Regions from separate parts of the Homo sapiens genome. Here region 1 is linked to region 2. The links are contacts of gene promoters, found by promoter capture Hi-C in blood cells and fetal thymus (Javierre and others, 2016). All regions are on one chromosome and are shown on one strand. The core of a region is centred on a gene start or on the middle of the fragment in contact, and the rest is flanking DNA. Distances in the headings are between cores, read along the strand shown.

Evidence for each region. The method cuts DNA at HindIII sites, captures the fragments that hold promoters and counts their contacts. A CHiCAGO score of 5 or more calls a contact.
Region 1: a fragment that was not itself captured here is called in contact with the fragment with the promoter of HERC6 in region 2 in 2 of 17 cell types (naive B cells and total CD8 T cells); the score reaches 5.8 in naive B cells.

Annotation. Positions count from the first base shown.
Region 1 is chr4:88,277,121-88,282,300 of GRCh38, reverse strand. It overlaps PPM1K (protein phosphatase, Mg2+/Mn2+ dependent 1K), which reads left to right. Exons shown (of 7, transcript NM_152542.5): 2 at 3,659-4,157; 3 at 5,058-5,158. The coding sequence starts at 3,718. Among named protein-coding and RNA genes, the nearest start is that of PPM1K, 4.8 kb to the left of the region's middle. The HindIII fragment of the contact is 1,892 bases long and covers 2,985-4,876 here.
Region 2 is chr4:88,375,713-88,381,622 of GRCh38, reverse strand. It overlaps HERC6 (HECT and RLD domain containing E3 ubiquitin protein ligase family member 6), which reads right to left and starts at 2,771. Exons shown (of 23, transcript NM_017912.4): 1 at 2,503-2,771. The coding sequence starts at 2,701. RefSeq lists an enhancer at 2,019-2,348 and a silencer at 2,359-2,548. The HindIII fragment of the contact is 10,681 bases long and covers 1-4,178 here.

The DNA.
Region 1 (5,180 bases), core at 2,681-5,180, 100 kb after region 2:
GACCTGCTTTTAACATACAAGAACAGTTTAACTCAAATCCAGTGCACCTTCCTGCCAGAGAAAGTGCTTTCCTTTTGGATGACTTGACTTCCAAAGATTGAATATAATGTTAAAATGGTTTATAAAAATAAACTAGCCATGTTTTCCGATCAAAAAATTGACCTAAATCTCCCCTGCTTACTTAAAAAGATTCCTTCTCTCTCTTAGTTTGTGGAATAATGAACTCATCCCAATTTTTAATTGCTGAACTGACAAAAGACAATCCTTAGGTGTTTGCTAGTTTGTTCTCCACTCTTTTTGTTTAGAGAACACTGATTGCTTTTTTTTTTTCCTTAAGGTTTTTGTTTTTCACATCACAAGTTCTACTCCCCTTGCCTTGCTGGTCAAAGCATAGTCATTCCCATGGGCATCGGCAGAGCTGTGGGGTCTATGATGGCAGATCCCAATTGTGGAGTTCTGGAGGAGGAAACTTTTCTTAATGTGCAGGTTTAATTCAAAGTTGTTATTTACTTTGGGAACTCCAGCTGCCTTTGAATTGTTTCTTAGGGAATATGGAGGGGATTGATATGATTTAGTTACATTGCAGATGGAAAAGGACATGGAGCCAGTTCGTAACATCTCGTTTACCTAAGCGATGCCGACCTGTTTGTTTGTTTTTTATAAACTAGCTATATATCTGGGTCACATTTCATCTCTGCCAATAATATGCCTTAAAGTAGGTGGTTTCCTATGACTGCCTGCTTTCTGAGATGATTATAGAAACAATACACGAGGAAGGATGCCAGGTTGATGATTGATTTTAAAATACGCAGGTTTTTAGCCTTACAGAAACTGCTCAATTTGCATTTTATCTCATTTCTTAAAAATGTTTCCAGTGGATATTTGTTCTCTGTGAGAATGCAGTTCTATTTTATTATTTAAAAAAAAATTGGGGGGAGGATAAAGAGGAGATAAAACGGCAAGAATATACTAGAACAGTTGCAGAAAAACTTCAATATTTATTTATTTGTAATTCCAGAACTCTGATTTAAAGTAGGTGCATGACTGCAAAGTAGCTCAAGGCTGAATATGGCATATATACTTTCAGACCGAAGCCAAAAGAATAGTATTTTGCTAATCTCAAGTTAACTCTTCAAATACAAATATTTTCTAATAATTGTATTTCTTTAAAGTTCTTTTTTTTTTCTATATGATATAAAGCTGCTTTGGGAATTATCTCCAAATAATTAGTACTTCCATTACCTGGTAGATTGTATTGTAGTTTGAAGTCTCAATTCATCACCTATAATTAACATAATTGGGTTTTTAAATTTTTTTTAACACACCATTGCTGGCTTGAATCCATAATTGTTGCTGAATAAAATCTAACTCTCAATTAGAAGCAAAAGAACAAACATCTCTTGCAATGGAATGTGTTATTTCTCTCTCTCGCTCTCTCTCTCTTTTTTTAAATAGACAATGTCTTGCTCCATTGCTCAGGCTGGAGTGCAGTGGTGTGATCTTAGCTCACTGCAGCCTCTGCCTCCCAGGCTCAAGCAATCTGTCCACCTCATTTTTGTACTTTTTGTAGAGACAGGGTTTCACCATGTTGCCCAGGGTAGTCTCAAACTCCTGGGCTCAAGCAGTCCTCCCACCTCAGCCCCCTTAGTAGCTGGAACTACAGGCATGCGGAACCACGCCTGACTAATTTTTGTATTTTTAGTGGAGACAGGGTTTTGCAAAGTTGCCCACTGGTCTCCAACTCTTGGCCTCAAGTGATTTGCCTACCTCGGCCTCTCAAAGTGCTGGGATTACAAGTGTGAGCCACCGGGTCCGGCCATGTTAATTCTCTTTGATAACCAGAGATGCTGTGTCTCTGCCACTCTCCAACCCCCCAACAATGTTGTCTTACGAAGAAATGAATTTCAGCCTTCTATGCAGGATCTTGGCCAAAAGGCCAAGAAGGGATGACTTCCTAAGTCTTTGATGATACATTACTTGTTTTGGTGGCCATCTTTATTCTAAATTCTGTGACAGCAGAGCTCATATTTTTTTTAATTGCTTAAATATCTAAAGATTGAGGCCAGTCTCTGTGGCGCATGCCTGTAATTCCAATACTTTGGGAGGCTGAGGTGGGAGGATCACTTGAAGCCAGGAGTTCAAGAGCAGACTGGGCAACAAAGTGAGAACCCATATCTACAAGAAATTAAAACAAATAAACACCTAAGGATGTTCTTTGGAACCTCATTCTTTCTTTTGACTGTTTTACCCACCGAAAGAAGTAATGGCCTTCCCTATACATAGCTAGACTGATTTCCAAAAATTCATTGGAAAGTAATTGTTTGAAATCTGTAGTGCATTTTCTCATAACTGCACTCAAGCTGGGTTTCATTTGTGTATGTTTATACCTTTTGGAAAGATACATTTTTTCAAGTTCATTTTTTATTGTGAAATAATTTAAACATAAGATTGAGAATAATATACTATCTGTAGACCATCCACCAACATCATCAAACCTTAGTATTCTGCCATCTTTTCAAGTTGATTTTAAAAGAATAAAGTAATAGAACAAAATCCTATGGAGACAAATTTTTTATTTGTGTGGAAAATTCCCAGAAACAGCTCTACCTGCAGTGGGGTAGGAGTTCCCCTGGGTAACACCCTGTAATGCCAAGAGAGGTTTTAGGATTGAGTTTCAGGGTGGAGTCCAGAAATGGGGGTGTAAAGTAATCGTTTCAAAGAAGTGTAGTCTCAAGTGTCGTTGGGTTGTTAGGGTTGGGGAAAGGAGAGCTGCAGCTGTGAATGTAAATATATAGATCACTCGTTCAGAAATCAGGGCTGCTTGTCACAAATGCAGTGCTGCCAGGTTCCTGAGATCATACCCACATACCCTCCTAGTGAGAGAGTCTGCTAGGATGGGGAGCATCAAAACTGGCTTATCTTTGTGCCTCTGGGGTGTTTGCACACCAATTTATATTTACCATAGTAATATAGTATGTAAAGCTTAGTAGGTTAAGAAATGTTAAAATAAAACTTAGATTTATCCTAGATTATGTTTTTGTTAAAACTTGGCCATTCTTTGGAAACAGAACTATTTTAAGTATTCTATTAGCCTGTTATTTTTTCCTGAAGAGACTTTGTTGCTATTGTTAATATTTATCCCTACCTTTTCTTTAAAGCAATAGAGTTAATGAAGGGAAGTATATTTATTTATACCTGTATTCTGTGTTCTTGCTACTAGAAGTGTAACTTGGGGACCAGCAGCTTCTGTATCACCAGGGTGTTGGTTAGAAATGCAGAGTGACTCCACCCCATAGCCACTGGGTCAGAACATGCATTTTAACAAGTGATTGCAGGTTCAAGTTTAAGAGATACATGTTCTGTGTATGTGCACACTGTTAAATTTTTATAGAATTTAAATGCTGTGAATGCGGTAGGAAAATCGATTCATTTTTGATCCACTGTTCTTAGAAGCAGGCTACTGGATGCCTACCCAATATATAACATAAATATATGTATTTTCTGTCAAATCCTTTATGAGCTTCATTTTTGGTAATATTTGATGACATATCAGTTATATTCAAAATTTCTGATGGTCTCTCTCTCTCTGTCTCTCTCCCTCTCCTCCTCTGCCCCTCTCTCCCTCTGTCCCCTGTGACTTGCATCATTTTTCTTGAAGACATTCCATTATTGTTCCATTGACCTTTCCCTCATCACTGAGTCCTTTGGAGCTGAGTTATGTCAACAGCTGCCTTAATTACTTTGGTCAGAAGTGGTGGGAACCAGGTGAGAAGGAGAGTGCTGCTAAGCTCCCGCCTGCTGCAGGACGACAGGCGGGTGACACCCACGTGCCACAGCTCCACTTCAGAGCCTAGGTGTTCTCGGTTTGACCCAGATGGTAGTGGGAGTCCAGCTACCTGGGACAATTTTGGGATCTGGGATAACCGCATTGATGAGCCAATTCTGCTGCCACCCAGCATTAAGTATGGCAAGCCAATTCCCAAAATCAGCTTGGAAAATGTGGGGTGCGCCTCACAGATTGGCAAACGGAAAGAGAATGAAGATCGGTTTGACTTCGCTCAGCTGACAGATGAGGTCCTGTACTTTGCAGTGTATGATGGACACGGTGGACCTGCAGCAGCTGATTTCTGTCATACCCACATGGAGAAATGTATTATGTATGTACAATGACTTTCACTCCTGACTTTGCAGTTCCTATACTTCCTACTTAAACTTTCACCCTTTGGCTGAGGCTTCCAGCGTAAACATAGTTACTTGAGTGGTTGCATGCTGCTGCTTCACGAATGAGCAGTAGTTTAAGTGTGCCATTTATTACTTATGGTTATCACAATTTCAGAAATGCATGTTTTAACAACTCCCCTGGGGAAAGCATTAACCAAAATCTATAGCACTTAATTTGTGATCATTTTAAGTGAAGTGGCATAATGTACATGAGATAACCTATGAGAAGCATTTACTCCCATCAGTGTAGGACAGATAAGTGCTTCAGTAAATGGTAATTACTCTTTCAAGTGGTGTGAATAGCTTTGAATACCTGACTTGTTGAAAATAGCTTTGGATGATTGGCATTAGTGTGGAAAAATGCATTTAATGCAGGCATTTTGGAGCTCTTCCGTTTATTTACTTCAACTAGTATTAATGCATTTTTGAGGATCACATTACTGCTAAAATTGAAAGAGGGAGAACATGTGATGGAGTTACGACCATGTGACTATTTTTGACTTCCCAGTGACCATTTCTTGACTTCCTGTGTATACCGCATTCCACGAAAGAACTCACAATGGGAAGGAACTCTCGACCTCTCAGGGTTGTGGTAGTGAGGATCAATTCTTCAAGGACAAGGACTTGGACTTTCATTGTTGTGCCCTTAAAAGCTTATCACAGTGCCTGATACTTTGTGGATTCTCAATAGGTATTCCTTAGCCAGTAGGTCTTCAGCATTTGACAGGAAAATCCTGAGGCCCGTTGTGTGGAATGACTGCTAGCTAGAGTAACAGTGAGGAGAAAAACCTATTGTAAAATGATTGTTTAAGGCTCTTTTTTTCCTCCCCACAAAGGGATTTGCTTCCTAAGGAGAAGAACTTGGAAACTCTGTTGACCTTGGCTTTTCTAGAAATAGATAAAGCCTTTTCGAGTCATGCCCGCCTGTCTGCTGATGGTATGTAAAACTATCACATTCC
Region 2 (5,910 bases), core at 1,522-4,021:
TAGTGCCATTGCACTACAGCCTGGTGACAGGGCAAAACCCCATCTCAAAAAAAAAAAAAAAAAAAAAAGAAGAGAAGGGTCACCTAAGATGAAGACTTGGCACTGAGGTGAGCCTGCATAAACAAGTCAATTAAAATAACCCTTATCTTCCATTAGATTTTCCCATATATTTTCTAGTCACTTTCCCTGAGTTCATCATCCTTTAAAGTCCAAACCCCCTTTTCTTTGTTAAACATGGTACACAAGCTCCTAAGTCGAAGCACTTGAGTTTCACTTCTATTCTGTAAATTCCCACGCATGTAAATTCCCCTATATGTAAAAGATTAATAAAATTGTATGCTTTTTCTCCTGTCAATCTGTCTTTTGTCAGTTAAGTTTGCAGGACCCAGCCGCTGAACCTAAGAGGGTAGAGGAAAAATTTTCCTCCTCCACACACCTTTTGAAACTATTCTCAGCAGGTCATCAAAAATGTAGTCAAATATTTGCTTACGAGAATATCAATCAGTATTATTTATAAAAGCCCCTAGTGGGAAACAATCTAATTTCCACAAAAAGAGAATAATTATGGTACTCTCAGAGTTTAGAATGTTATGCAGCAATTTAAAACATATTTTCAAAACATACAAAATGAAAGGGTAATATGTTCATAAGATTATGCTTGATGAAAACACAATGTACAGAGTTGCATAAATACTGCATATACAAATCTATAATGACATGATTTTTATAAAGATTAAATATGTACATAGAAAAAAGTAGACAAGGAGAAAATGCATCAAAATGTTAGGAGTTATCTTTGGGTGTTGGAGCTACGGTGATTGCTTTCTCGTATTTCTACAATAATCCATAACGATTATTGTATTATCTCACATATATAATATATATATTTATTATTATTATGTTTTTTGAGACAGAGTCTTGCTCTGTTGCCAGGCTGGAGTGCAGTGTCGCGATTTCGGCTCACTGCAACCTCTGCCTCCCGGGTTCAAGCGATTCCCCTGCCTCAGCCTCCCAAGTAGCTGGGACTACAGGCGCCCGCCACCACGCCCAGTTTATTTTTTGTATTTTAGTAGAGATGGGGTTTCATCATATTGGCCAGGGTGGTCTCGATTTCCTGACCTCGTGCTCCGCCCGCCTCGGCCTCCCAAAGTGCTGGGATCACAGGCGTAAGCCACCGCGTCCGGCCTATTATGTGTATATATATATATTTATATATTATATATATATATTTATATATTATATATATATATTTATATATTATATATATATTTATATTATATATATATTTATATATTATATATATATTTATATATTATATATATATTTATATATTATATATTTATATATTATATATATTTATATATTATATATTTATATATTATATATATTTATATATTATATATTTATATATTATATATATATTTATATTATATATATATTTATATATTATATATATATTTATATATTATATATATTTATATATTATATATATTTATATATTATATATATTTATATATTATATATATATTTATATATTATATATATTTATATATTATATATATTTATATATTATATATATATTTATATATTATATATATTTATATATTATATATATTTATATATTATATATATATTTATATATTATATATATTTATATATTATATATATTTATATATTATATATATATTTATATATTATATATATTTATATATTATATATATTTATATATTATATATATATTTATATATTATATATATTTATATGCTATATATATATTTATATATTATATATATTTATATGTTATATATATATTTATATATTATATATATTTATATGTTATATATATATTTATATATTATATATATTTATATGTTATATATTTATATATTTATATATTATATATATTTATATATTATATATTTATATATTATATATTTGTATATATTTATATATTATATATATTTATATATTTTATATATATATTTTTATATATATATATTTTTTAATGCCCCAGTGTATTTCTAAGGGAGATACAGGTGTCTGACCCACAAACCACGTTTGTAAGGTCAGGCTGCCTTCTCCAGGTAGAACCGCGCAGGCGAGGATTTATCTGCAAGGCAAGCCGGAGGGACCACATCTCTTTCCAGAGCAGCGCTGACCAGGTTAGTTTCGGCTCTCAGTTTCGCTTTGAACTTGAATTGGAAACCGAAACAAATCCGAGGGGCGTTGGGAAAACGAAACTGAGGAAGTTGCTCTTCGGTAGCACAGGGCACCATTTTCCTGGTTCCTGTGGCTCTTCGGGCCCCGAGGAATCCAAGGCTCCCAGCACCCCTCCCTGCCTGGCCCGCGGCGCCCAGCATCTGAGCCGCTCCCTGCACCTGGGCCCCCGCGCCCCTCACCCGGGTCCCAGCGCTCCGCACCCGGTTCCCTGCGCCCGGTACCCAAGCCCCCGCGCCCATGTACTGGGGTCCTCACACCCTGCACCTGGGGCCCCCCGCTCACCTGGCAGCTCCCCGCGCTGCGCGCCCCTGCGGCCCAGCTGACCCCTGCTGTTGTCTCCGCACGAGAGGACCCTGTGGTTGGTCAGCAGCAGCAGAGAGTGGCGCTCCCCGCTGGCCGCCTGCAGTAGCTCAGCCCCGGGGCTGCCCGCCGTCCTCCGGCGCTGCAGCTCCCTGGAGTCGGCGCCCCAACAGAAGTACATCCCGCTTCTGCGCCCTGTCGCCTGCTCCGGATTCCGTCGGTCCCGCTGCGACAGGCTCCCGAACGCTGGTGACTGGGTGCGCGATGATTTCCTGAATATCAAGAGACTCACCCTGTCTTCAACCCGCCCCAGGGGCGCAGCCCTGGCCCCATGTCAACTCTCGCTGCCTGAACTTCAAGTGCTGAAGAGCAGAGAGGGCGTCCCAGGGAATAAAACTGAGTTTACATCCTAAGCCATTTATGAGTCGTGAATGCCACTTTGGGCAAGTTACCTAATGATTCCGTGCTTCAGCTATCATATCTACGAAATATGGACTGCAATTCAGCAAATCTAATATGTCGGGATAATTTAATAGGCACATAAAGTGTTAGAATAATACCTAGAGTGGTTAATAAAGCATCTGAGTGCCCACCTCATTCCAGACCTTTTTTGGCATTGAAAATATGTTTGTTTTTTGTTTGTTTGTTTGTTTGTTTGTTTGAGATGGAGTGTCGCTCTGCTGCTCAGGCTGGAGTGCAGTGGCACCATCTCGGCTCACTGCAACCTCCACCTCACGGGTTCAAGCTGATTCTCTTGCCTCGGCCTCCCGAGTAGGTGGGATTACAGGCATGCGCCACGACGCCCGACTTAATTTTTGTATTTTTAGTAAAGATGGGGTTTCACCATGTTGGCCAGGCTGGTCTCGAACTCCTGACCTCAAGTGATCCACCCCTCAGCTTTCCAAAGTGCAGGGATTACAGGCGTGAGCCTCTGGGCCCCGCCTGAAAATACAATTAGTGAAAGACAAGATCCTCTTGATGCGTTTACATTCTCCTGAGGGAAAGAGAACATAAACAGATAAACACATAGTGTAATATCAAGGGGCAACGAAAAATACAACAGGAACCAGAGGGTGGAGGCGGAAGGCACTGGTATTTGAGATGATATTAGGGAAGATCTCTCTGATGAAGTGATATTTGTGCAGAGAGCTGAGGGGACATGGGAAATGAGGGAATGAGTCGTGATCACACCTGAGGGCAGAGGATGAAAAGAAGCAGTTGGAAGGTTTTGAATAGAGAAGAGCCATGATCTGACTTCAGTTTTTAAAGATTCATCTGGCTGCTGTGTGAAAAATAATAGGACAAAAATGGAAGCAGAAAGCCAGTTAGCAGAGACTACTTCAGAGTTCAGGTCAGGTGATATCCTAGAAGGGAAGAGAGGAGAAGTTATTAGATTCAAGACATGTTTTGAAAGTAAGAGTCCACAGATTTGATGATGGATTAGAAATTGGGGGGAAAGAAGAAAAGGGATTAGGGATTACTCCAGGGTTGGCTTTAGGGGTTACTCCAAGGTAAACTCTACTGGACTGGGAAACCCTGAGGAAGGTGCAGGTTTAAGCTATGTGTGTCTGGAATACAGATTGGTAATGATAACTGTAAGATGCTTGTTAATCAAGAAGGCAATAGGATAAACTGTTTTGGAGTTGTAGAGAGAAGCTTGGGTGTAGTCAGAAAATTGGGAGCCATCAGTGTAGAGGTGATGCTTAAAGCCAGATGGCTGAATGAGAACACCCAGGGGGTGAATGTGGTGACAGTATAGCAGAGGCTAGAGGACTGATCATAGGAGGAAAACCAGGAGGAGGAGTTATAGACAGAGCAAGTAACGAATAAAGGAAGGATCAACTCTGTCAATTTCTTGTGGAGCAAGGTAAGGATTGAGCACTGATTTTTATTTATTTATTTGTTTGTTTGTTTGAGATAGAGTTTCCGCTCTTGATGCCCAGGCTGGAGTGCAATGGCGTGATCTCAACTCACAGCAACCTCCGCCTCCCAGGTTCAAGCAATCCTCCCGCCTTAGCCTCCCAAGTAGCGGGACTACAGGCACGTGCCACTACGCCCAGCTAACTTTTGTATTTTTTGAAGAGATGGGGTTTCATCATGTTGCCCAGGCTGGTCTTGAACTCCTGACCTCAGATGATCTGCCTACCTCAGCCTTCCAAAGTGCTGTGATTATAGGCCACCATGTCCCGCTGAGCACTGGTTTTTAGATTTGGTAACTTTGATAATGTTAGCCATCATCAGCATTATTGATTTTTTTTTAAAAGAAACTATTACAGAACCTATTTATGTAATTTCAATTCACCACTCTTCATGACCATGTTTCAAGTTCTTTAAAGAGAAGAACAAATGTTCTTTATTTTTCTACCTCAAGAGTACCTGGAACTTGGTAGATGCTAATAAGGGTATGTCGGACAATTGGATTGATGAGTAGTGAGTCAGTGGATAGTATTAGTATTTCTGGTTCTGTTTTGCTGTATACCAAATATAACCTTTTTCTGAATAGTAATTTCTTAATGTTTATTTCTTTTCTCAAGCACAAAATGTAGGAGTTTGGTATTATTACCATAAGATACTGAGCCCTCAAATTAAGTTATTTCTTTAAAAAAAAATTTTTTTTTGAGACAGAGTCTCGCTTTGCCACCCAGGCTGGAGTGTAGTGGCACGATCTCAGCTCACTGCAACCTCCACCTCCCCGATTCAAGCGATTCTCCTGCCTCAGCCTCCTGAACAGCTCAGATTACAGGCGGGCACTATCACACCTGGCTAATTTTTGTATTTTTCGTAGAGATAGGGTTTCACCATGTTGGCCAGGCTGATCTCGAACTTCTAACCTCAAGTGATCCGCCTGCCTCAGCCTCCCAAAGTGCTGGGATTACAGGCGTGAGCCACCACTCTTGGCCTAAAAAATCTTTTATTGATACATAATAGATGCACATGTTTTGGGGGTACATATGATAATTTGACACATTATCAAATTGGGATATCTATCGCCTTAAATAATTTATCTTGGGCTAGGCACAGTGGCTCATGCCTATAATCCTAGCACTTTAGGAGGCCGAGATGGGAGGATCGCTTGAGCTCAGGAGTTGGAGACCAGCCTGGGCAACATGGTGAAACCCCATCTTTACAAAAAATAGCTGGGTGCAGTGGCACATACCTGTAGTCCCAGCTACGTGGGAGGCTGAGGTGGGAGGATTGCTTGAGCCCGGAGCCTGGGAGGTGGAAGGTGCAGTGAGCCCAGATCGTGCCACTGCACTCCAGCCTGGGCGACAGAGCCAGACCCTATCTCAAAAAAAAAAAAAAAAAAAAAAGGAACATTCAAATTATTATTGGCTAGTGGTTTTGAAATGTACCTATAGTCATTCTACTGAGCTATTGAACCAGGTCTTA